Linked DNA regions of Homo sapiens: regions 2, 3, 4, 5, 6 and 7 are each linked to region 1. Evidence: promoter capture Hi-C in human tissues and cell types (Jung and others, 2019). All regions are on one chromosome and are shown on one strand. Each heading gives the region's core, a stretch centred on a gene start or on the middle of the fragment in contact. The rest is flanking DNA. Distances are from core to core; before and after follow the strand shown.

Region 1 (2,686 bases), core at 100-2,599:
AACATAAGAATCACCCATTTTCCATACTGAACCTAAACTTCGGTTTATCCCATCCTCACCCCCTGGCACGTATCTTGTACATATTTATAGCCTTTAAAGCGAGTGCACCAAAAAACTTTCCATATGGAACCGTGGACTTGTCTTCCAAGTCAGAAACTCCACCAGCCACTAGAATTTCCTCAAAATGCAAAGACTGAAGGTAAGCAAATCATGTCTAATATATCCACAGCTCACTCTGGCAGATATTAGACCGTGAGTCTCTAAAACAAAATCATCTGGGATATGTGACGGGTTTCTGAGTACAATTTTTGTGAGACCTAACTTAACATCGAATTGGCTTTCTAAAACCAAACGAACAAAAAATATACAGTATATCTGACAGACACGTCGTCCGTTTCAAATATGAAATCACAAATAACCTGGGAAAGGAAACGAGGGGCTGAAACTGACAGCACTACTAATTGCTCCGAGAGTCCTGAGTTAGGACTGTTCCATCAACAAACATTTACTAAGTTAAAAATCCCCTGCGTCGTCCTAGCACTGGCGATACACTAAGGAAGGAGAATAAAATTACGGAAAGCAAAACCCGAGCCGTGCGAAGGGCCACTAGGGAGGTGCGCACTGCGAGCTCCACGTGCACCCTTGGGTTGGGTAAGTGTCGGAGATGACTTGGAGCCCTAAGGAGCAATTAAGGCCAGGTGAGTGGATGCAGGCCGGGAAGAGGGAACAGACAACCCTGCAAAAAGAGGGAGCGCGCTTGGAGGTCAGTGAGCTCGCAGTGAGTAAGCCCCTCCCTTCTCACCAGGGAGACCCGAGACCCGCTTCTTCCCAGTTCTGCAGAGCGTGTTCGGCCGGGCCTTGCTGACTGGTCAGCGTCGCCCCACGTGCTCTACCTACCCGGTCCCCGCCGGCGCCGCGGAGACCGGAAGCGACCCGGCGGCGCTAACCGGGCAAGAACACCGCAGACCAGCCATCTAGTGCAAGGAGCGCGCCGGAGCCGGGGAGCGGACGCCGAGAGCGGACGGCGAAAGCGGACCCTCCAGGCGCAGAGACGCGGCCAGGCCGAGACTGCGGCGGAGGACTCGTGGGCTGGAGCGGAGTTCCCCGGGGTCACCCCAGAGTGGGTGCGACCAGGCGGTGCGGGAGAAGCGGGGTCGCCAGGACCCGACGCGCGCCCGCAGCCTGGTCTCCCTGTTCCAAGACCAAGGCCCCCTCACCTGCTTGCTATGGAGGTGGCCAGGAATCGGCTGCCGCCCCGCACCACCAACGTCTGCCCGCACAACGCCAGTCCCACAGAGCCCGCCATGTACCCGCCCGCCTCACCGCCATACACATGTGCCAGCCCAGAGCCTCTTCCTGTCCGCACCGGTCGGTGACGCCAGGCGCAGACGCCGAGAGATGACGTATACCCCACGTACCGCGCATGCTCAAGGACGAGCCTGCCTTGAGCATGCGTGAAAGGTGCTGTGACCGCCCTCCGGGTTGTGGCTGGTGGCCTTCGGTGTTTCGGGTTTGGCAGTTCACTCACCAAGGTGATCTGATGGAGTGCACTTCGCACGATTCCAAGTACTTGCCTAATGTTCATCCTTTCCTCTAGACGGGGTAGGGCTGGTTCTGGATCTTTTTCCGCGGTAGCTGGAGAGACGTAGGACCTGATGATGGCTACTAGATGCCTGGTAAATGATCCTTCAAGAAGTGAATGAACCGGGGGCCGTGGCTCACATGAAGTCAGCAGTTCGAGAGCAGCCTGACCAATATGGTGAAACCCCGTTTCTACTAAAAGTACAAAAATTTGTTGGGCGTGGTGGCGTGCGACTGTAGCCCCAACTACTTGGGAGGCTGAGACAGAAGAATTGCCTGAACCCGGGAGGCGGAGGTTGCAGTGAGTCGAGATCGCCCCCGCTGCACTCCAGCCAGGGCGACAGAGCGAGACTCTCTCTCAAAAAAAAAAAAAATGTCCAAGATGTGGTCATGGGTGAGGGTGTCTCGGGTGGCGTCAAGTCTGAGGTCGCTAGAAGTAAGCCTACTGAATCTTTGCACTTAGACAAGCCACAGATGCCTTAAAATCTCCGAACTGTAGTGATATTTTCAACCCAAACTATGGTTAGTTTCCAGTGTTCATCCCAAGATCCCCAAAAGCCTCTTACAATCCCAGCATCAGGCACAAAATCTAGGATCTCACGGTCTGTTTTAGATTGGCTTGTCCGGTGCAGCTCCTCTTGATCCAGAGACTTACAAACTAAAAAGATTAATTTTCTCTCCCGTGCACGCAATATATGATGGTGAGCCGGGACCAGATAACCACAATAAATACTTGCATGTGAAAATGAGAAGAGGAGGAGACACAGTAATCACTGGTCCAAAGCAATTCTGAAATCCTACTGGAAGATGTTTTCAGGCCCTACAAGAATAAGAAGTCTTAACCAGGCCCGAGTTCTGCTTCCTGGGAGTATCTCCCCAGGCTGTATCTCAGCACAGCTCTTGCCTCTGCCCTCTTGGGTGTCCCTCCTTTTCCAGCACCTTCTTGGCCATGTTGAAGAATGTGCCCTTTGAGAAACTTTCTCAACCTCCTTCCTGTCATTAGCAAATTGTGAGCCCACAGACCTTTTTTCACTCTAAACTGTTCTGTCCACATTTTGGCAGCTGGTGGTGCTTTGTTCACTACAAGTCCCTTAAAAGCTTTATG
Region 2 (2,686 bases), core at 69-2,568, 480 kb before region 1:
TGCAATCTTTGCTCACTGTAACCTCCACCTCCTGGGTTCAAATGATTCTCCTGCTTCACCCTCCTGAGTAGCTGGGATTACAGGCATGCACCACCATGCCCAACTAATTTTTGTATTTTTTAGTAGAGACAGGGTTTCAACATGTTGGCCAGGCTGGTCTCGAACTCCTGACCTCAGGTGATCCACCCCCCCCTTGGCCTCCCAAAGTCCCAAAGTGCTGGGATTACAGGCGTGAGCCACCACGCCTGGCTGGTATATTTATTAATCAAATACTACACAGCAATAACAGTGAACTAACTGTGGCTACAAGCAATAATGTGGATAAATTTTACAGGCATAATTTGAGGAAAAAGAAATGAGATATGATAGAGAATATGCTATATGGTTCTATTTACATAAGGCTCAACCACAGGCACAATTCATATACAAGTGATACAGCAGTTTACTTTCTGGGGGAGGGAGGAGATAACTGGAGGAGGCTGAGCTGGGGGCAGAGGTGCATCTGAGGTTCTGAGAATGTTCCAGAGCAGGCTATCTCCACCTTGGCACTAGTGAAATTTTGTTGGGGAGACTGTCCTGGGCACTGTGACATTCCCGGCCTCTACCCACTAGTGCCGGTACCACGATGTCCACCCCACCCACCACCACCCCCGCCTCATTTTGGAAACAAAAATGTCTCCAGACATTTCCAAATGTCCCCTTGGGTGGAGGAGGTACAAAATTCCCCTGGTTGCCCTGTTTGATTTTGGGTCGTGGGGGAATTAGGGGTGTGGGCTCATTTATGGAAATTCCTTGAGCTATACACATATGATTCATCAACTTTTCTGTACACATATAAAGCTTTTAAAGTTTTTAAAATAAAAAAACAAGTCAATGAATGACTGAAAGAACCAGTAAGTTTTCCAGCAATCCGAGACAATAGATAGAGTGGGGTTTAATGTCTTGTTCACAGACAAGGAGACTGGGATCCAGGGTGGGTCAGGGCAGGGGGCCAGCAGGATCCAGGAGGGAACTCATTCCCTGACTTCTCCTCCGCTTCCTTCCCCCATGCTCTCACGCATTCTTGCTCCCGAATACTAGCCAAGTCCCTACAGAGGCTGATCCCGTGCAGGGGCTCGGTTGGACCTTTAGCCTCAAACTCCCGTGGTGGAAACAGTTAGGATTGGTGGACGCTGCACCCAGCATCCTGCAAACAGAATTCTGAAAACTGATATCTCATGCAAACAGGATATCAACTTTTGTCAGAAAGATCAAAAAGAGCTTGAGGTTTTTCTTCACAGCCTCAGCCTTGCCTCTCCCCCTCTTGCTTTATCTCCTCATTTCTGTGTGCAGGCGAGCTTCTTGGCCTAAGGGCAGGAAGAGATGGCAGCGGGGGAGACGCAGCTCTACGCCAAGGTCTCCAACAAGCTCAAGAGCCGCAGCAGCCCCTCGCTCCTGGAGCCCCTCCTGGCCATGGGCTTCCCGGTGCACACCGCGTGAGTACTGCCCAGAGACCCCGGGGCCCAGCCAGTAAGGCTGGTGCCAGACCCTGCTGCGGCCCCCGGCATGGAGCTGCAGGGGTGTAGGGTACGGCTTCCTGCCAAAGCAGTGCACCTTGCAGGGTAAGACACTGCCTCTTCACAGGGCCCTCTTCTGCTTCTCGTAAATGAGGTGATCTTGACCAAGCTTGTCCAACCCACATGAGGCCCAGGACAGCTTTGGGCTTAAGCCATCATCCCACCTCAGCCTCCTAAGGCTGCCCTGTTCAATTTGTGTTGGCTGCCCAACACAAATTGGTAAACTTTCTTAAAATATTATGAGATTTTTTTTTTAGCTCATTAGCTATTATTAGTGTTAGCGTATTTTATGTGTGGCCCAGGGAGGCACAAGAATACCCCTGATATTCTTGACCTTTTAAAGACCAGCTCGGCTGGCTGACTGGGGGACCCTGAAATTTGTGAAAATCAGAAGCCATGTATTACTCTGGGTGCCCCATTTTGGGGGTTTGGAGGAGATTGGGGCCTGGTTGTAATCTCTTTGTGTGCAGCTCAGTGACTCTGAAAGTGGCGTTTCAAGATATTCAAACTCTAACGTGAAAGGCCCCAAAGCCCGCTGAGTCTCTAACACTGGGACCAACTGTCAGCAGGGCTGTGCTTCCACGCTGCCCGGGGAAAGTCACTTGTCCTCAGAGACAATCCCTTGAGTGTCTGATAACGAAACAAATGGGTAGGAAACTTCAGACACAGTGTGAGCGCGACCCTGCTTACCCAAGGGAAAGGCCTGCATGTGGAAGAGCTTAGCCTTCAGAGTTACCACTCTCGGAGAGGGAGGCCACGACACCAACATTGGGTTACAGCTTTCATGGCAAACCAGTGCCTTAAATCTGACCCATTCATTTTTTCACATGGAAAAATGTATCAGAAACACACTTTAAATCTGACCCATTCATTTTTTCACATGGAAAAATGTATCAGAAACACACTTTAGGTAACTTTGGGTTGGGGAAGGAGCTAAACTTTCCTTCCACACTATAACAAAAGCTTGGCCAAATTGGGTGAAGTAACTCTGAAGCTAGACAAACCCATTTCTTCTCCCCAAATCAGGGCTTTGTCGTCACTGTTATGTTCAAGCTAAGCCAGGGGCCTTTGAATGGGGAGTGGGGTCAGGCATGTGCAGGGCGGCCACCGGGCACCGTCCAGGCATTACA
Region 3 (2,686 bases), core at 128-2,627, 460 kb before region 1:
AGGAAGGCTGTGTGTGATGCTTAGGATGGCTACTGCCTCCCTTCCATCCTCCAGCTCTCATGAGAATGCCTCTTGTAGCCCACCCTGATCAGACATGTGCTAAAAAGGAAGTCTAGGAACTGTCGTTCAGTCTGGCCAAGTTGCCACACCATAAAGCCATTGCAAAGTGTTAAGGTGGCTCTTGTGAGCTTTTTCACTCTCTTCTCCCAGGTTCCAGTTAGGAGAGTGGAGAGAGCAGGCAGAGGTCAGAGTACACATGGTGAAAAAAGAGAAAAGCTGCTCAGCCTCATGGGTGTGCCTGTTGGGGTGGAGCTCTTGCAGGTGTCAAGACTGATGGTTGGAACAACTGAATGATGAGAGTGGGAGGAGAAGGGCAGAAATACACAGAAAAACCCTATGTTGTGGTTCTGGGCTTCCTGGCACCTTCAGAGCTGTGTGGCTGGGGAAGAGAGCCTGGAAAAACACCATCGTGGCCATCCCTCTGTCTCCAGGCAGGAGGTCTTAAAACCATTTTATATTTCACTCATTTGTTTAATTCTCTCCTAAAATGCTCCACAGCTTCTCTAGGGTTCCCCTCACCACCCTGACAAATAAATAAATCATTAAGTTGAACACAGATGTATCAGCATCTACTCAATCTATAGATTTTCAGATCTGTGCTGGACATTTGCTGTGGACTTCTATTTCCAGCATCTATACATCCAGGGAATTATTTTCTGTACCCTTCCTAATGAGATTCATGCACATGGCAAAACTATGAAAATTGTGACGTTTTATTTGAGTAGTCATTAAAAGCTGCTTAAAAATTGTCAGAGGCTATATGGATAAGCCTCTGTGTGGATAAGACTAGCATTTTAAGTAAATTAAGAAAGAACGTATTTTGAAGAGCTGAAATAAATGATTGCATATTGGTCATTTTTATCCAAACCCCCAAAAAAGAAAAGAAAAGATGGTTTAATAGTACCTGATAGAAGCTCTTGGTGAAATGATTAGAATTTGCAAGAAATAGTAGTAAAAATAATGGAAGTATTGTCTGAAATATTTATAAAAGGAGATTTGGTGACTATGGCTGATTTCTTTAAGTATTATATTTCTTTTTGCTAATTATTCATACACTGAGATTTGTATAACAAGCCAGGGACAGTACCTATGTCCCTGGGCTCCCCCACTAAACATAATAGCCACTTGACATTCAAGGAGAGCAGATTCCAGCCAAAGCCCCACAGCTGTGCATACATGACATTCCATATCATCTTCTCTTGAGGCCATTTAACTTCTTACCCTAATGAATAAGAACTTAGGACCACAAAATGCAAATGTGGGATGAAAAATGCAGCCGTAGTCACACGTCTTTATTTATTGATGTGTTGACTCCTAATCCACTTAAATCTATTTTAAGGCAGCTTAAGAGATGTCCAATAGCTTTGCACACTAACATCACCCCCTGTGCCTGGCTCTGTGCCATGCATTTCCCTTACTAACTGATTTACTTCTCCAATACCCCCTGGATAGGCACTTTTATTGATCCATTTTATAGTTGATGAAACTGAGACACAAAGAGATCAACTCACTTGCCTGTGTTCACACAGCAAGTGAGCAGAGGAAGCCGGATTCCAGTCTTATACCTAATCCCACGCTTGGGCTTTCAACTATGACCTCAACTGCCTATAGAAGAGATCATTAAAATTTAAAAATAAGTCCATAAATTAAATTATGACACATCCATACAATAAAATATTTGCAGCTTTAAAATAATTAAAAGGGAGAATTTTATATATTGATTTGAAAAAATATGCAAGATTTATTGATAAATGAAAAAAATAAGTTGCAGAACGATGTGTATGGCATGATATACTTGTGGGGGAAGGGGAGAGAAACACATAACTGTCTGTAAATACATGTGCACAATATGTATTTCTATACATGTGTATGCCTAAAGGTTCCCTGGAAGGGAGAGTGTCTAGAAACTTCTAACCATGGTTACCGGTGGGTGTTGGGAGTGGGAGCCAGGAGAATGGAACAGAAATGGGAGGGAGTCTTTTCAAACACGACCATTTCATAATGTTTAAATGTATGAAGCATATAAATGCATTACTTACTCAAAACATAAATTAATCCATTTTAAATTTCAAGAAGAGAATGTAAGAAAGCTGGGTCAAAGGGAGAGTAAAGGTGGAAAAGCTAGACAAAGCCAGGGCTGAGGTTTGTCCATACCATGGCGTGCGCTGTGAGCTCCCAGCTCCGAGCTTTCCCACATCCAGTGAGAAAACAGACACACATTCAACCAACAGTCATGGCCATCCCAGATGCGTGCAGACCAGCGGTTCAGGAGAAACACAATTTGCTGACATAGACATGTCCGTGGGTCCAGGGGCCACATCAAAATCACAGGATGTGGGTGCCACAAGGGATTGTAGAGATAACCGAAGGCAGCTCCCCTGCTTGAGAGGTGAGAAGACTCGGGCCCAGGAGGCCAGGTGACGTTGTACAATCAAGGAAGCTCTTGCTTTCTTGCAAGCTCAGTTCACCACCTGATCCAATCAACAGTTTAAGGAATAGAGAGGAGATGCTGGCTATGCCCTAACTAACCATCTCAATTTCAGGAGGGTTGGGGCTCCCCTGTGGCCCCGCATCATTTAGCATGTCCTTCGCTCTCTGCCCGGGATGGGAGAGTTTCACAGTCACA
Region 4 (2,686 bases), core at 67-2,566, 430 kb before region 1:
GAGCATGCACACACACAAACACGTGCACATACACATGCGCACACACATGCACACGCACATGCACACACACGCAGGTACACAAGCATGCAAACACACATACACATACAAACGCGTGCATGCATACATGCACACATGAGCACACAAACACATGCACACACTTGCACACATGCACACAAAGGCATACACATGCAATGCACACACACAAACACACATGCACACACAGGCACACACACGCTCACATGCACACACACACACGCTGACTCTCCTACGGTTCTGGAGGTTGGCATTTTCTCAGCAGGCTATGTTTCTTCTGGAGCCTCCAGGGGAGGATCCTTGCCTTTTCTCACTTTTAGAGGCCACCTGCATCCTCCCTCCTCAAGTACAGCGGCGTAGCAGCCTCCAAGCTCTCTCAGTCTCTGCCTTCACAGCCACATCGCCTTCTGCTTCTGACTCTCCTGCCTCCCTCCTACAAGGGCCCTTGTGTTGACACTGGGCCCACCCAATAACCCAGGATCAATTCTCATCTCAAGAGCCTTAACCACACATGCAAAGTCCCTTTTGCCACATAAAGTTGCATATTCCCAGGTCCCGGGGATTAGGACATGAACATCTTTGGGGGTTATCCTGTAGCCTGCCATAACATACCCCAATCCTTCCAAGCACAGCGGAGCTGCCCGTACAGGGCCTCGGACATAGGGATTTGAGACACTCCCCTTGCAGGCCTTTTTTGGCTTCTCCTATTCTTGTTTCTGATCACGTAGAGGAGAGAAGAGGACTTTGCCAGTGGGAGAAGTAGGCTCCCCCGATTTAATGGGGCCCCAAAAGAAGGGCCACGAGCAAAGTGGAGTCTGTCCATGATGGTGATGCTGAGGAAGCTGGTCCAGCAGGGGATGGGGTCTCCCCAGTGGGGAGTCTCATGCCCCAGCCCACAGGTCACACCTGCTCCCACAGCCCACACATGTGGTGCCTCATGCTGCAGGCAGAGATCCCAGCACGGTGTAGTGACAGTCCATCGGTCTTTCATCTCTTCTAGCCCCCTGATCCAGTGCAGGTGTTATTTCATGATTGCAGTTTGGGGCTGTGGTGGTGGCTCTGTGAGTGCCTTTTATAGTGTGAATGCAGAGACAGGGCAGGAAGGACCCATGCTGCACCCTCAGCCTCCCCTGTGAGCACCCAGGCAAGTGGAGGGCAGAACACAAAGGGAGCTCTTGTAGAAATAAAGATGGTGAACACCCCGGGCTGTGACAAAAACGGCCCACATTGTGTAGAATGCACAGGAGGCCAGACCCAATAAAAGTTTCCTTGCTGTTTTAGTCAATCAAACACGACCTCCTGAGAAAAAGACGCATCTGTCTGTCCCTTGTTTTATTTCACTAATGATGTAGTTTTTCTGTGTCCAAACATAAAGAAGTTTGAAGTTGACACAGCCACAGAGAGCAGAGCATGCACCCCACTCACAGGCCTGCTTCGAGTCCAGGCCATACCGAAATGACGTCTTCAGGGAGATTGTTCTAGACGCATCCCAGCAGATACCGACTAGAGAAGAGATGGATTCACTGGGATGTAGGTGGCTGGGCAGTACGTCCTGCAACAAATACACCCCACCGCTGGGCACCTGGGTGGTTGTTCTTTCTCCTCGGCAAGTGTGTGGTTGGGTCCAAGTCCCTCCTGGATACCACAGTGCCACGCTCGCTAATCATGATGATGAATTAAAGTGCTGCAAGTCAAGGTATGGCATTGAAATCACAGTCACGTGTTCAGGTGGTCTGTAATGAATCTCTGGATTCACCTTCTCAGGGGTGAAGCTTCCAGGTCCTCCACCCTGGGCAAAGCCAGACACAGGTAATTCCCCTCTCATCCTGCTGGGCTGCTCACAGGTTTTGCAAGGAGAATGAGATGGGTTTGAAACTCAGATCTCCAGATCTCCAGATCTAGTGTGCAAGAAATAGCATTTTCTCGATATTCTATGCTTCTGGTTCTGTCAGACCCTCATTCCACCCCCAAGGCAGAGGACCCCAGTTCAGTGGTTCTGTTCCTCCAGAAGGAACCATTCGCTGTATGGACTGAGCCTTGCGGACAGAGCTGGGCTGGAAAAGGGCAGAGACGGAAATGCCTGGTGGGATTATCATGATTGGGTGTAAACTGTCTACTCTATGAACCAATAGGAAATCCCAAAAAAAGAAAACAAAAGACACTCTTTTTTCCTTCCTCTCCCTGGGTGGGTCGCTTTGGTGTTTGTGAGCCAAGTCTGACCCCTGCTGACACCGTCTGGAAGTGGACGTCCTGTCACCAACGCCATCCCAACCCATGCCCCACCCACATTCTCTTGTTGACTTCCTCACTGTGTGCTTGAAAAAAAAAACAAGCCTGGGCCAGGCATGGTGACTCATGCCTGTAATCCTGGCACTTTGGGAGGCCAAGGCGGGCAGATCACGAGGCCAGGAGATCGACACCACCCTGGCCAACATGGTGAAACCCCGTCTCTACTACAATACAAAAACGTAGCCAGGCGTGGTGGCGCATACCTGTAGTTCCAGCTACTCAGGAGGCTGAGGCAGGGGAATCGCTTGAACCAGGGAGGCGGAGGTTGGAGCAAGCCGAGATCGCGCCACTGCACTCCAGCCTGGCGACAGAGCAAGACTCCGTCTCAAAAAAAAAAAAAAAGAAAAAGAAAAAAACAAGCCTG
Region 5 (2,686 bases), core at 77-2,576, 390 kb before region 1:
CATGTCATTCTTCTTTCTCCACAATGTCATTCTTAAACTTCTTTGTTTTGATGAGTTCTGTTTGACAGGCAACAAGGCCAGCAGGGAATAGGGATGCTCTTTCTCCCCCTTAACCTCAGAGTCCTCAGTTGGCCCTACACCCCCAACCCTCAGCATCAGTACATGGGGTCTAGGCCTCCCCCACATCTGGCACCCACCCTCCCCTCCATCTCATCCCCCACTACCCCTAAAAACCTCGGCCTTCCTGCCTGTATCCAAGTCACCCGCCACCCAGGACCGTCTCCCCACTCCTCTCCTGCAGCACTATAGCCTCTGCTGGCTCCTGGACTCCCTAATTGGACTTGTGTGACCATCTGGGAGACAGGTAGGGTACTGGACTTTATGCCACAGGGTCCTGACGTTGAACACACTGCCCTGCACAAAACCATTCTGGCCCATTGTGATGGCAGCCAGCCAAGATACACTGTTATGAATAACTCAGCCATACATTAACTGAGATTTTGTGATTGGAAGAGTATTGGCTTACTATGTTATAATTAATATTATAACTTCTGACCTCAGTTTCCATTGCTGCCTTCATGAAGTAAGACACTTATTTAAGCTTTTGTCAGAGAAGAAATCTCTGGGTAGTGGCTAAATCTTGCACCCTTTAAGATACAAAGCCATCTGGAGAATCAAAAATCCCAACTGTTACCAGAAGAGCTTTATATGTTAGTGTGGCATAATAAGAAATATTGGTCTTTATTCATGGTTCCCAGCACAGAGCTCCTAAAACCCTTGACATTTCCTGACTGATAGAAATGTTTTTGTTATTCAAAATGAGACTCTTTTGACCACACCTGAACTTATGCAAATGAGGCCCAGGATGGCCTCAAGATGGGACTGAACACCAGAAAGACCAAGTGATAAGAAGGATAGAACCTCCAGCCCCACCCACCAACTTTTGGTAAAGAAGAAGGAAGGGGCCAGAGATTAAGCTCTGTAAAAACTCTTGAGCAAGATTTGTTGAGCTTCTGGGGTGATAAACATATCATGTGCCAGGAGGGTGGTGCACTCCACCTCCACAAGGACAGAAGCTCCTGTGCTTGGGAACCTTCCAGGCCTTGCCCTCTGTACCTCTGAATCTGGCTGTTCATCCATATTCTTTATAATATCCTTTACAGTAAACATGAGTAAAGTGCTTTCCTGAGTCCTATGAGCCGCTATGGCACATTATCAAACCTGAGTAGGGTGTTGTAGGAACCCCCAATTTGTAGCCGAGTCAGGTAGAACTGTGGGTACCCTCCGGATCCACAACTTGAGGTTGACATCTGAAGTGGGGCAGTCTTGGAAACTGAGCCCTTAACCTGTGGGGTCTGTGCTAACTCTGGGTGGTGTCAGAATGGAGTTGCATCATTGGAAACTCAGTTGGTGTTCACAGAAGACTGGAGAAGTACATAGCATGGAAAATCCATGCATTTGGTGTCAGAGAAACAGTTACCCATTTTTAACCTTCATATTCAAAATTCCTTAAATCCCTTATCCTAAATATCTTCGTGTGTGTGTGTGTTGTTCAAATTGTATCAACATCTACACTAAAATCAAAAGTGACAAGAATGAGATTAGGTGCATAAGGATTTGGAAAGAATTAAATTAAGCCCCAAATTAAATTGTTTAAAGTTGATTTAAAAAGCAGATGGTGCTTCTTATAGAGCAAGCCTTCTGGGATTTATGAAACAAAACAAAACAATTTCTATCTAACAGGGATGGTATTAAAACCCTCCATCTTGGTCTCAGAATTGGACAGAATCATCACTGACATCTATTAAAATAAGAACCACCTACTGGTTCTTATTTTATCTAGGAGCAAAGCAAGCAACTATAGCTCGCACTTTGTAAGAATATGTCCTCCTCACTAAGAAGTGATGCTGTCACAAGTGGTACATCACAGTCCTAGCCCCAGTTACTGAGTGCTCACTATGGATCAGGCAAGGTTGCAGGTGTCTCCCTGTGTTTATCCATTGAATCTTCATGCTACAGATGAGAAACTGAGGCAAGGAGATGTGAAGTCACCTATGCAAGCTCACACCTATTGTCACCAGAGTCCAAGGTTAGGGTCACAGATCTTTTTGGAAATCTGAAGAAAACTAGACAATTTCTTTCTTCCTAGGGAAAAAACAAAAAGCCCAGAACACAGAATTTTATATACACTTTCTGAAGACTCACAACACGCTCCCTGCCGGTCCCCCTGCCCAGGTTTGGGATATCACTAATGTGGTCACACCAGGTGACAACGGCACAAGGGGCGGCAGGGAGGTTCTTGGAAATAAAGGAAAAAGAATCCTCCTCAAACATAACATTGGCCTGTAAGGACTTATGGCACAGGTAGGAAAAGTCAGTTTAACAAGGCAGGAAGACTCCCAGACAGGAAGCCCTGATGTAAGGAAACACTCGATCTGAAGAAATAACACATCCGTCAGATGGCGGGGTTGGTCAGAAATGGAAAATGCAAAGACAGGTTCAGGAAGATGAATGCCGCAGAGCAGCTGAAGCCGTGGGTCCACCAGCTGCGAGGCCTGCGTCCACTCAGGAGCCTCCCTTTTGTCTGCTCCCAGGACATGGACATGCTGGCCACAGGGACAGATTTCCCACTACAGATTCATTAGTGAGTTAATTAATTACAAGGCTTTCCTATTTCTGCATCAAC
Region 6 (2,686 bases), core at 109-2,608, 370 kb before region 1:
CGCAATCTCAGCTCACTGCAAACTCTGCCTCCCGGGTTCAAGCAATTCTTCTGCCGCAGCCTCCCCCGTAGCTATGATTACAGGTGCCCGCCACCATGCCTGGCTAATTTTTGTATTTTTAGTAGAGACAGGGTTTCACCATGTTGGCCAAGCTGGTCTCGAATTCCTGACCTCAGGTGATCCACCTGCCTCAGCCTCCCAGAGTGCTGGGATTACAGGCATGAGCCACCGTGCCTGGCCTAAGAGTATGTCTTTTTGCAGACCCCATAAAAATTTTCCAACTTGCTTATCTCATGTATTTGCACTAGCTCAACTGCAAGAATGACTCCTTAGTTGATGGGTCAGTTTCCTATTTCCACATACCTGACCTCATTCTACCTATAGGCATAAACTCAAGAGGAATTTACAACAGATGGGCTCAGGCAACAAGTTAGCCCCAGAGTGGAGCTCAGCTACAGAGGAATGCTTCACTGAAAGAAATGTGAGTCCCTGAATCTGATTCAAGCCTTTATCAAGTCCTACTTCAGTTAGAATCCAGTTTACTCCCCAAATACCCGTGAGCACTCTCTCAGTTACTATTTCCCTTGCTACACATATAGAAGAAAAGCAAGAAAGTTACTCTGCTGGGAAACACTGCCAAGGGGTCTTAGAAGCAAGAAAATTTGCCTATTTTATACAGGTAGTTTAAAGAGAACCACCCTTATAAATGGGTGTTTGTCCCCTTATTATTTCAGGACACTTGAAAGCTCCTCTCCTCCAATATGTCTCTAATTCAAGTATCACAGTGTCTAAAATTCTACCACTAAAATGCCATTACCTAAATTAAGCACAGCCTTCTGTCTTTATGTTGATATTTCTTTAAATATCATGCCAATAGTTTTAAAATCAAATGATACTAAAGGTATATAACAACAAACAGTCGGGCCTGGCTTTATCCCTTCAACTCCTCTGTCTCATTCCCCTACCATTTTCTACTCTTTTACCCATTTCTTCTGGTAGTTCCCTATATTTCTAAATAATATGAGTAAACTATGATTTTTATGTCCAATTTTAAAGCTTTTCTATGGACCTCTGGTTTTAGAGACAACATCTAGTTCTCTTACATCCCTTGCCACTTCCCCTGATGCTGTAGGACAGACAGGTCTGTCCCACCCACGGTGACTCAGTCATTGTTGTTCATGGCCGCTGCCCGTTCTTCACGATCAAGGAGGAGAATTCTTTGGAGGAAACAGAGCTTTCATACGTGAATCGACTGGGAAGCGAGTCAAAAGTACTGCAACTGGAAGTGTGGCATGGGGAGGGGGCCGTGGCCAGTCTCCTCACTGGGCTCCTGTAGGACTGGGAACGCCTACTCCTTCACACCTAATTATGTTTGCTGGATTGGGTTATAGTTCTTCAGTGTGTGGACTCTTGTCAGTTTTATATCCGTAGGCCGAGCACAATGCCTGGAATACAGAGCATGCTTAATAATCAGAGGCTTTTCATTGTATTTCTTATCAACAACACTAGTAACTGAATATAAATCACCCTTCCTCGCCAGTCAGTGCACCATACCATTAGAATTCTTGCTTTTTGATCAGTGGAGATAAAATGAGTTTCTTTTCTCCATGTTAAGTAATCAGGTTCTGATTTTCCCTTTTCTTTCTCTCTAATAGTGTTTAATGCTCTAATGCTTTCTAAGCATGAGGTATTTTCTTGAGCTCTGAAGCCCAGTATCTTCAAAGCCCCCTTCAGGGAAACCTCAGTTCCCTGTCAGTCAAGGCCTGTCACTGGCTTTGCCTTGGCCTTCTCTGGGAGAATGTCTGCTCCTTAAGTTGATGGCATACAAGTTGAGGTGGGGAAAAATTAAAGTGTAGGATTTCTGTAGGCAGCTAATGTTTTATTACTGGAGTGCAGTGATGCGATCTCAGCTCACTGCAACCTCTGCCTCCTGGGTTCAAGCAATTCCCCTGCCTCAGCCTCCTGAGTAGCTGGGACTACAGGCACACACTACCACGCCCAGCTAATTTTTTGTATTTTAGTAGAGATGGGGTTTCACCATGTTGGCCAGGATAGTCTCGATCTCCTGACTGCATGATCTGCCCGTCTCAGCCTCCCAAAGTGCTGGGATTACAGGCGAGAGCCATAGCGCCTGGCCTAAAATGTATTATATAAGCATCATAGTGACCACAAAACAAAAACCTGCAGCAGATATACAAAATGTAAAGAGAAAGGAATCAAAGCATACCATTACAAAAATCATCACATTAGAAAGGAAGATAGTAAGGGAGTAACAAAGCAACAAAGGAACTACAAACCGCCAGAAAGCAATTTTTTAAATGGCAGTAGTAAGTCCTTATCAATAATTAATGTAAATGGATTAAATTCTGCAATCAAAAGATAGAAGTGGCTGAATGGATATTAAAAAAAAAAAATCTAGGTGCTGCCTGCAGGAGACTCAGCTTTAAGGATACACATAGGCTGAAAGTAAAGGCATGGGAAAAGATATTCCATGCAAATGGTTACCAAATAGAGAGCAAAAAAGATACTTATATCAGACAAAACAGACTTTAAGTCAAAAACTTCATAAGAGACAAAGTCACTATATCATGATAAAGAGATAAATTCATCAAGAGGATATAACAATTATAAATGTATATGCACCCAACATCAGAGTACCTAAATATATATTAACGGAACTCAAGAG
Region 7 (2,686 bases), core at 61-2,560, 350 kb before region 1:
CCACCTGTTGGGCTGGGGGGCTGTTGGGGCAGATGTAGCGTGTAAGGTGGGCTGGCCTTTGGGGGAATCTTTGTCAGGCCACAGCTGTTGGGGTCCACCTGATGACTATGAGGGCCCCTGTGAGCCAGGAGCAAGTGGGAGCCCTGTCCCGGTCCCTCTCCCGGCTTTCCTGGTGGTCCATCTCAAAGCCCCCGCCCCTGACTCTCGTGTGTAGTGGTGTCCAGGCCACTCAAGACTTAGGGCTTCTGAGGAGGCGGCGTCAGGGTCAGCTCTTAGTTCAGTGTCATAAGTAACAATATAAATAACTGCCGCTTACAGAGCCCTGGGGTATGACAAACTGCCACATACATTACCCCTGTGATCCTCACAGCAACCCTGCGAGTGCCCCTGTGAGGAAATTGAGGCTCGGGTCTTCGTTCCCCAGGCAGGGCTGCCACACACTCGAGAATTCCCTGTGGGTCAGGCTGCCTCCAGGGCCCCTACTCATCCTCTCTGTGCCTCAGGGTTTGTCCGGGTTTAATTACCTGAGTACAGTCCCAGCATCACCCTCAGAGCCTCCTAAACGCACAGATTTCCTGACCTAGCAGCTGCGATGTGCCTGGGCATGGATTGGCTTGACGCTGAATCCTGTGGGTTTCTTTACCTTTCAAGATAGATCAGAACATCACACCACATCAAAACTAAACTTTATAGTGCCTTCTGAAGCGCCCGTGTGCTTGAGCTCATGATATAAATGGCATCAACGAAACTGAAAGTAGTAGTGATTCTGTTGACCCACAAAACAGTTGAGTGATTATTTATAGCCTGCATTTCCCAGAATATTGTAAGCAAAACCAAAGCAAAATGTATTTGCTTACTTGAAATTGAACCAGAGGCTGTGAATTAGAAAGTGAGTCTTATTCTGTTATGTCATTTATAGAATGACACGGCACACCAGGTCACATTTAAGTTAGTTAAATGGAATGTTTAGACTTACCTTTGATCACTGCTGATTAATTGTATTTTTCTCGATGATGATGATAAAACCAGGGCTGGGAGGATAGTGGTGTTATAAGTGCAACCCTGTCCCTTCTATCTGCTGCTCCAGCTGTGGCCTAGCCTCAGGACTCAAGGCAAGCGTCTGCCCAAGCTGGTAGACAGGTGAGTCTGACTCCCAGCAGAGATCTTAGTGCGAGCTCTTTTCACCTGGACTGGGCCAGAAAAGAAACCTGAAAGCAGAGGCTTCCCGGAGAAGCTTAAACTGCAGGGGTCCCTGGAGCCAGGGGGATGGCAGCATTGATTTGAATGTGAGTGTGCCCACCCCTCTCTGGACACACAGGACTTAAAAGGAGAAAACTGGCTAGGCGCAGTGGCTCACGCCTGTAATCCCAGCACTTTGGGAGGCCGAGGTGGGCGGATCACCTGAGGTCAGGAGTTCAAGACCAAACTGGCCAACATAGTGAAACCCTATCTATACTAAAAATACAAAAAAAATTAACCAGGCATGGTGACAGGCGCCTGTAATCCCAGCTACTGGGGAGGCTGAGGCAGGAGAATAGCTTGAATCCGGGAGGCGAAGTTTGCAGTGAGCCGAGAGCGCACCATTGCCCTCCAGCCTGGGCGACAAAGTGAAACTCCATCTAAAAAAAAATGAAATAAAATAATCCTCAGTGGCAGACAGAAAACAAAGTCTGAAAAGCTGGAAGTATGTACTATGGGTGGGAAACTTGTTATTTGGAAAGTTCCAATTCTCCCAGTGTTAATATTTAAATAAAATGCAACTCCAGTGAAAATCTTAGCAGGGTTTTTTTTAATTGAATAAAATAATCTTAAAGTTTGTATGAAAGAATGTCCAGGAATTATCAAGAAAAGTGTAAAGATAACATTTTATGATATGAAAATATGCAAAAGATTAACATATTTTAATACCATAATCAAATTATGATATTACATGAGAATAGACAAAAAAGTCAGTAGAATAGATTAGAAAATATGGAATATTTGACAGAGCTTATTTAATAAATTTAATAAATGGTGTCGGCACAACTGGTTATTCGTCAGGAAGAAATAAATGTTGAATCCCTATTTTATAAAAACAAATGGCCCGGGCACTGTGGCTCACACCTGTAATCCCAGCACTTTGGGAGGCCGAGGCAGGTGGATTACCTGAGGTCAGCAGTTCGAGACCAGCCTGACCATCTCTACTAAATGTACAAAAGTGAGCTGGGCATGGTGGCGGGCACCTGTAATCCCAGCTACTTGGGAGACTGACGCATGAGAATCGCTTGAACCTGGGAGGCGAATGTTGCAGTGAGCCGAGACCACACCACCGCACTCCAGCCTGGGTGACATGAGTGAGACTCCATCTCAAAAAAGTAAAATAAAATAAATGGATTAAAGACATGAATGTAAAATACAAAAAGTACAAATCCAAGAAGAAAATTATGTTTATCGTAGGAGTGAGTGTGAAGTTAGGAAACCCAAAGAAACAACGGGCAAGGGGGATGAACAAGCAGTTTACAGACACGGAATTCAGATCGCCAGGAAATATGTGAATGGTGTTCGAGTCTGCCGGTATTCCATATGCAAATTAAGGCAACACTGTGCTCAGTGGCTGGCACAGCATTGCCCAGGGCAGTAAGCGCTATTCACTGGTCGTGAGGGGAGAGGAGTTTTCATGCGTTCTTGATGGGATGTCAAGCGTTAG

What was found. The method cuts DNA at HindIII sites, captures the fragments that hold promoters and counts their contacts. A contact is called where the count stands out against the background at its distance.
Region 2: the fragment with the promoter of UBASH3A here is called in contact with the fragment with the promoter of WDR4 in region 1 in 1 of the 25 tissues and cell types used here (spleen).
Region 3: a contact is called between a fragment that was not itself captured here and the fragment with the promoter of WDR4 in region 1, in 1 of the 25 tissues and cell types used here (spleen).
Region 4: a contact is called between a fragment that was not itself captured here and the fragment with the promoter of WDR4 in region 1, in 1 of the 25 tissues and cell types used here (spleen).
Region 5: a contact is called between a fragment that was not itself captured here and the fragment with the promoter of WDR4 in region 1, in 1 of the 25 tissues and cell types used here (spleen).
Region 6: a contact is called between a fragment that was not itself captured here and the fragment with the promoter of WDR4 in region 1, in 1 of the 25 tissues and cell types used here (spleen).
Region 7: a fragment that was not itself captured here is called in contact with the fragment with the promoter of WDR4 in region 1 in 1 of the 25 tissues and cell types used here (heart left ventricle).

The regions. Positions count from the first base shown.
Region 1 is chr21:42,878,190-42,880,875 of GRCh38, forward strand. WDR4 (WDR4 tRNA N7-guanosine methyltransferase non-catalytic subunit) reads right to left here and starts at 1,350. Exons shown (of 11, transcript NM_018669.6): 1 at 1,218-1,350. The coding sequence starts at 1,306. It overlaps LOC105372817 (a long non-coding RNA gene), which reads left to right and starts at 1,523. Exons shown (of 4, transcript XR_937765.3): 1 at 1,523-1,566. RefSeq lists enhancers at 1-375, 376-1,340, 993-1,042, 1,073-1,182, 1,253-1,602. The HindIII fragment of the contact is 11,595 bases long and covers 1-2,686 here.
Region 2 is chr21:42,402,584-42,405,269 of GRCh38, forward strand. UBASH3A (ubiquitin associated and SH3 domain containing A) reads left to right here and starts at 1,319. Exons shown (of 15, transcript NM_018961.4): 1 at 1,319-1,475. The coding sequence starts at 1,363. The HindIII fragment of the contact is 3,374 bases long and covers 1-2,092 here.
Region 3 is chr21:42,420,921-42,423,606 of GRCh38, forward strand. All of the region lies in intron 7 of UBASH3A (ubiquitin associated and SH3 domain containing A), which reads left to right. Among named protein-coding and RNA genes, the nearest start is that of UBASH3A, 18 kb to the left of the region's middle. RefSeq lists an enhancer at 2,257-2,526. The HindIII fragment of the contact is 5,669 bases long and covers 1-2,686 here.
Region 4 is chr21:42,447,862-42,450,547 of GRCh38, forward strand. No RefSeq gene overlaps it. Among named protein-coding and RNA genes, the nearest start is that of UBASH3A, 45 kb to the left of the region's middle. The HindIII fragment of the contact is 3,611 bases long and covers 1-2,686 here.
Region 5 is chr21:42,489,920-42,492,605 of GRCh38, forward strand. All of the region lies in intron 3 of RSPH1 (radial spoke head component 1), which reads right to left. Among named protein-coding and RNA genes, the nearest start is that of RSPH1, 5.0 kb to the right of the region's middle. RefSeq lists an enhancer at 2,441-2,686. The HindIII fragment of the contact is 4,264 bases long and covers 1-2,686 here.
Region 6 is chr21:42,508,189-42,510,874 of GRCh38, forward strand. It overlaps a transcript of SLC37A1 not described here. Among named protein-coding and RNA genes, the nearest start is that of SLC37A1, 4.3 kb to the right of the region's middle. The HindIII fragment of the contact is 5,149 bases long and covers 1-2,686 here.
Region 7 is chr21:42,527,207-42,529,892 of GRCh38, forward strand. The region is part of intron 3 of SLC37A1 (solute carrier family 37 member 1); the gene reads left to right. It overlaps LOC107987299 (a long non-coding RNA gene), which reads right to left. Exons shown (of 2, transcript XR_007067878.1): 2 at 1-1,619. Among named protein-coding and RNA genes, the nearest start is that of SLC37A1, 15 kb to the left of the region's middle. The HindIII fragment of the contact is 7,112 bases long and covers 1-2,686 here.